Regions from separate parts of the Homo sapiens genome. Here region 2 is linked to region 1. Evidence: promoter capture Hi-C in 16 types of primary human blood cells and fetal thymus (Javierre and others, 2016). All regions are on one chromosome and are shown on one strand. Each heading gives the region's core, a stretch centred on a gene start or on the middle of the fragment in contact. The rest is flanking DNA. Distances are from core to core; before and after follow the strand shown.

Evidence for each region. Contacts are between HindIII fragments. The CHiCAGO score rates a contact against its expected background, and 5 or more counts as called.
Region 2: a fragment that was not itself captured here is called in contact with the fragment with the promoter of HEMK2 in region 1 in 1 of 17 cell types (non-activated CD4 T cells); the score reaches 5.1 in non-activated CD4 T cells.

The regions. Positions count from the first base shown.
Region 1 is chr21:28,883,895-28,887,090 of GRCh38, reverse strand. It overlaps HEMK2 (HemK methyltransferase 2, ETF1 glutamine and histone H4 lysine), which reads left to right and starts at 1,724. Exons shown (of 6, transcript NM_013240.6): 1 at 1,724-1,879. The coding sequence starts at 1,746. It also overlaps the pseudogene HSPD1P7. RefSeq lists enhancers at 1,307-1,865, 1,811-1,870, 1,866-2,425. The HindIII fragment of the contact is 10,284 bases long and covers 1,349-3,196 here.
Region 2 is chr21:28,828,087-28,831,282 of GRCh38, reverse strand. It overlaps a transcript of HEMK2 not described here. Among named protein-coding and RNA genes, the nearest start is that of HEMK2, 56 kb to the left of the region's middle. The HindIII fragment of the contact is 4,724 bases long and covers 1-3,196 here.

The DNA.
Region 1 (3,196 bases), core at 475-2,974:
TCACTGTCCATGCCTACAGATAATTTATTTTGTATTTTTGGATAAAAAGACATTTGTATATTCCTAATACTGGGTGCGAGAGCACCTATGGTTCCAGTTCCAGCTACTCAGGAGGCTGAGGGAGGAGGATCGCTTGAACCCAGGAGATCAAGTACAACTCTTTCTATATATATATATTTTTCATATTTTTACATAATAAAATTCTATATGGCAGTTAAGAGGAGTAACCTAACCATATATCAAAACATAAATCTCATATAATGTTGACTGAAAAAGAAATTTGAAAAATATGTCCAACCTAGTACCAGTTATGTAAATTTTAAAATACACCGTATGTTGCTTATAAAGATATGAATGTTTATAAACGTATAAATACAAGATCCATGTTTTTACATGGATTAGATGGACATACACTAAATCCATAAGAGCCTTGGAGAGAATGTTACACAATTAAACTGAAGGCAAATAGAGAAAGAACATCCATCTTATTTGTAATATTTTAGTTCTTGTATTTAAAAAATATTTTAAGGAAACATGAGAAAATACTGTCATTTCTGGGTTTAAAACTTGGGGTTTTGAAATTTGTAACCCAGCCGGGTGCGTTAAAGGCTCACACCTGTAATCTCAGCACTTTGAGAGCCCAAGGCGGGTGGATCACCTGAAGTCAGCAGTTTGAGACCAGCCTGGCCAACATGGGGAAAATCCGTCTCTACTAAAAATACAAAAATTAGGCAGCCGTGGCTGCAGGCGCCTGTAATCCCAGCTACTCCGGAGGCTGAGGCAGGAGAACCGCTTGAACCTGGGAGGCAGAGGTTGCAGTGAGCCTAGCTCGCGCCACTGCACTCCAGCCTGGGGGATACAGCGAGACTCTGTCTCCAAAAAAAAAAAATACATAAGTAGAAATAAAATAAAATAAAATTTGTACCTCAAATACTTTTCTGTATTTTTATTTCTCAAATTTAAAAAACGAGCTGTAAAAATGTTTCATTGCGAAACAAATTTCAGAAATTGACTCAAAAAGAATGCAAATACTTGAATAGTCTAATAACTTACAGATGTTCCAAAACATCAAAGATCCATTCACTCAAAAAGGCACCAAGCCCAGCCAGTTTTAAGGCTTTCTACCTAATGTTCCAGAAACAGTGTCCTAACTCACATAACGAGGGTAGCGTAATCTTGGTAAAAAAAAACGGAGCCAGATTATTAGCCTCCCCAATTCAGCAGTGTATTAAACCGCATCATCTTGCTTAAGGTTTATAAAAAGAGTGCATTCATGATTCATCAGGAAGGCAATTTATAAAGTACAGTAAAAAAACGAGGAAAGTCTTCATCTTTATAGCGTAAAGCTTAAAGTTCAGCTGACAAAAAAACAGTAAAATTTATTATGTATTTTTTCAAATCCTTGCAAACTAGGAATAAAACAGAATTTCCAAATATCATTAGAATGAAGAAAGAACATTCACCTTAGTCAAAAACAACTCAGAATGCCCACTATCAGGTTCTAGTTCACAGAATAAAATTTAAATGTTCCAAAGAAGAAAGCAAATGTCAATAGTCACGGATTATACAACTGTCTACTTAGCAATTTCAAGGAGAGCCACTGACAAATTTAGAATTAAGACCCAACAACAACACACTGGTCGCCCGGGACGCCAGCCCCACTCCTAGGCCTGCGCATGAGGGTGAGGGCATGCGCATGCGCATGCGCACGCCCTGCGCACGCGCATGGAACGCAGCGAAGGACTATGGCAGGGGAGAACTTCGCTACGCCGTTCCACGGGCACGTGGGCCGCGGCGCCTTCAGCGACGTGTACGAGCCCGCGGAGGACACGTTTCTGCTTTTGGACGCGCTGGAGGCAGCGGCTGCCGAACTGGCAGGGTGCGAGGAGGGGAGGGGCTCTGACGGGAAAGGGTTGCGGCTTTCTGAAGAAGTGCGGTGGAGGAGGGCCGGAACGGTGACTATCACCGCCCTGAGCCGGAGCAGGCGGGGTCCACTTGCAGATGATTGACAGCCAGGACGCCGTAATTGAGAATTTTCCTGTAGCTACAAGTAATGAGTGTGCCGGGGACGCATCTCCTTTGCCAGGGGGCTGCTCTGTCTCATGAGCTCCCTGACTGCTTACCATGCAAAGGCGTATCTTTTCCTGTCGCCTGTTAATCTGAAGAACACATGTCCCTGAGAGAAGCGATAGTATAACACGTTTGGAAACAAAATATTCCGGAAACATTGCTTATTAATATTTTTAAAGTATTACATATTAAAATTGCATGGTATTATTTGATTTACTCAGCACATAGAAAGCACCCTTAACAAACATGAAAGAAAGTTGTGTTACTGGAGTGGGGAAATATTTTTAAACCCACTGAATAGCATACTCTAGCACCAGCCAGTCCTCACATGTGGCTACAGAGCGCTTGAAATGTGGCTAGTGCTATTGAGGAACTGAATTTTTCATTTAATTGTTACCAAAAAAAAGTTACATGCAGCTAGCAGACAATAGTCTACCCTAGCACTTTATTTAAATGGATTTATTGAAGTGATCGCCATCAATTTTAAATTAATAGCAGAAGGAATGAATACTGACATTGTGATTTTTAAATGTAAGGAATTTGGGTTGTTAGATTTGTTTGAAGATAAGATGAACTGGGTTTTCTCAGGATGGAACAAACAGCTTTCAGGTTTCAAAGATCTATATTGTATTTATTTATCCCTCTTAAACTTGGTCATATTTCTCCAGTATAAAATGTCCCAGCTCTTATTAAACTAGTCTTTCATTGTAGATGATGGAACTTTTGGATCTACTGGAATATACAGTGGAACAGTACTGTTTTATAACTTGTCTTTTCTTCTCAAGATAGCCCAGAAAGATTTACAAGCACAAATTGCACTGCAAAGTATGCTGTAAAAGGAGCTGATTTTGTTATAAAGTCTTGGGTTATTTCTAGTTTGGAATTCTAATTATTTATGAGACCATGATAGTTATTTTCAAAGAGAAGCCACCTGGTGAGATTCTCAGACCTTACTACCACCTAATAAAGACTTGTCAGATGTGTAGACTGGTTCCAAAAGTTTAAAACCTCTGGAGCTTGTCACTGGGTAGTTGTTTTGGGAGTTCAGTGCTAAAAATTTCCCTAAATGCCATCAAGCTGATCTTTTTAATGGGGATGATTTATGCTTTTGATGCATGTATAACAT
Region 2 (3,196 bases), core at 314-2,813, 56 kb after region 1:
GTAGAGACGGGGGTTTCGCCATCTTGGCCAGGCTGGTCTTGAACTGCTGACCTCAAGTGATCCACCCACCTCGGCCTCCCAAAGTGCTGGGATTATAAGCATGAGCCATAGCTCCCAGCTAATACTGTTCTTTTTTGTGAGTTTTAATCACTAAGTTTCTTCTGTTTGCGTAGCTATGACACATGGCATCCCTCCTGCCCCTACAAATTGATTTCTACTCCTTTACTGAATACCAGTGGTCCTGGGCTCATAAATCTACAAAGTGGAATCCAGAAGAAATCAGAATAAAAGACAATACATATTTTAAAAAATTTTCTACAGATGGATAGAATACTAATTTTCCATTTCCTTTCTTCCTTTCACCTTCTATTCTTTCTGATACCATTCTTTTTTTTTTTTTTTTTTAAAGATGGAGTCTTGCTCTGTCACCCAGGCTGGAGTGCAGTGGCACGAACTTGGCTCACTGCAACTTCCTCCTCCTGGGTTCAAGCGATTCTCCTGCCTCAGCCTCCCAAGTAGCTGGGATTGCATGCGCCTGCCACCATGCCCGGCTAATTTTTTGTATTTTTAGTAGAGACAGTGTTTCACCATGTTAGCCAGAATGGTCTTGATCTCTTGACCTCATGATCTGCCCACCTTGGTCTCCCAAAGTGCTGGGATTACAGGCGTGAGCCACGCGCCTGGCCTCCATCCATACATTTTTTTAAAAAATAAACAACATTTTGAAGATATTGTAGAGTCTGTTCTCACACTGCTATAAAGAACTACCTGACCTGGATAATTTATGAAGAAAGAGGTTTAATTGACTCACAGTTCCATAGGCTGTACAGGAAGCATGGCTGGAAGGTCTCAGGAAACTTACCGTCATGGCAGAAGGTGAAGGGGAAGCAAGCACGTCTCACCATGGTAGAAAGAGAGAGAGAGTGAAGGGGGGGAAGTGCCACACACCTTTAAACATTTATCAGATCTCGTGAGAACTTACTATCGCAAGAGCAAGGGAGAAATCTGCCCCCATGATCCAATTACCTCCCACCAGATCCCTCCCCCAACATTGGGAATTACAGTTTGACATGAGATTTGAGTGGGGACACAGAGCCAAACCATATCAAATATTTTCTGCCGTAAGTGTCTGGATGTACCATACCCAGGGTTCTCAGTTTTAGATAACATAATTGTTATCTAATTATACAGATATAAGATATACTCTCAGCCTGGAGGACTAGTCTCTGGCAAGAATTCAGGGAGACAAAATGTGGCTAAGATCTTAGTGTAGGAAGAGCCCACCCTTCTCTGACTGGGAGCAGACAGATCTTCTCCCTCTTAGGATTCCGTATTGGGAGTTGGGACCTCTGCCTACCATCTTTCCAGGAATTTTCTCCAAATGAACAGGACATTTCATGACAGTTTGCCAAAATGAAACACGTTCATTATAATGGGTATCAATGAAATTTTCACTCTGATATGAACCACATCTTTGTTTTCCAAAGTTTTAGAAACAGAGTGTATGTTCTTGTAAACTAATTGGTCTAGGGAAAATACCTCTTTGAGAGGACATAATTAACTCTCCCTACTCAGATGTCTTAAAATCCATGGAGTTTTGTCTTAAAAAGAATTGCTGCAGCTGAGAATGGGATACTGCCTTAGTCTGTTTTGTGCAGCTGTAACAGAATACCTGAGACTGGATAATTTGTAATGAACAGAAATTTATTGGTTCATAGTTCTTTAGTTGGGAAGTCCAAGATTGAAGCACTGGTATCTATCAGGGACCTTCTTGCTGTGTCATCTCATGGTGAAAGGCATAGGATGTCAGAGGGCAAAAAGAGGATGGGAGAGAGGAAAGGTGACTGACCTTATTTTATAAGGAACCTACTTCCACACATTCATCTATTCATAAATGCAGAGCCCTCATGTTCTAATTACCTCTCATTGGAACCTACCTCCCAACAAACACTGTTGCATTAAAGGTTAAGTTTCCAACATATGCTTTCTGAGGGACACATTCAAACCTTAGCAGATACCAAGGGGCAACTCACAACTAACAAGACTTGGGTAATGGTAGATGACTAAGTGCTTACTGTGTAATTAGCAATTTCACTTGTTCTAAAGAAGCATTTCTCAAGAGACAGCTGCAGTCCATCTTCATCAAAATCGTTAAAAATGAAGATTGTTGAGGATCCCTCCAGGCCTTCAGAATTAGAAATTTTAAGAGGAGCTCTTGAAGTCAGCAATTTTTATAAATCCCCAGATGAACTTTAAACCCACTAAAGTTTGAGAAACACCAGGAATGTAAAGGAATGCAGGTCTATTAAAAATTGTTAAAGCTCTTGTTAAAATCACTCATTTTCAGCCTGTCCTCTCCCTGCTTATAATAATCACTGTATATATAGTTTTATTAAATATTGCATTTATATTTTACTAAGAAAGATGCTATTCTAAGGCTTAATGAATTAAAAAAAACAGGTTGTTGCAGCTGAGTCGGTTTCTTCACAGAGATGGATATTCGTAAAGTGTTAGGTGGCTATTTGGGTGAAAGATCAACAAGCCCACTGGAAACTTTTGGAAGGTGAGCTGGCATGGAATTTCTGGAAGAAAGGGAACATTTTCTGACAGCAGTTGGTCAATGCAGAACTTTCAGATAATGATGGATTGGCAGTCGAAGGGCTACCTAAGCTAAGTGTCACCAAAGTGCCTTTGGTCTGTTTGACCTGCTTAGTGTCTAGTAGCTTCTTAGTTTAGAAAAAACTGAAGGCTGCTTCAATTTATTTACAAATGTGTTGTTCGGAACTGGTGCCACTATTATGAGTGTTCACCTAGTAGTTCTTAGAGCCTCATTCGTATTAGAGTTACCTACATTCTCTACTTCTTGTTGGCACATGAAGCATTAAAATGAGGGCTTCAAGGTCACTTTAGAGGAGAAAAGCCCCTCAAATCAACTCCCCTCTTTCCTTAGCTTGAAATCTCTCATGATAAGCCCAACATGTGCATCTAAATCCCACTGCTCCACCCCTTCCTCCTTACTTACTGTGTCACGGGGTTTTAAACCCTTGGAGTTGGGCACATCTGCACACAAATCCTGTTTCCATCACCTGTAGTCTGCAGGCTTTGTGGGTCTTACGCTTATATCAGTTTCGAAATACTCTTTCAAAAATAGATAAGAAAATGTATGAACATGCAAACATGTTTCTAAGAACCCTTT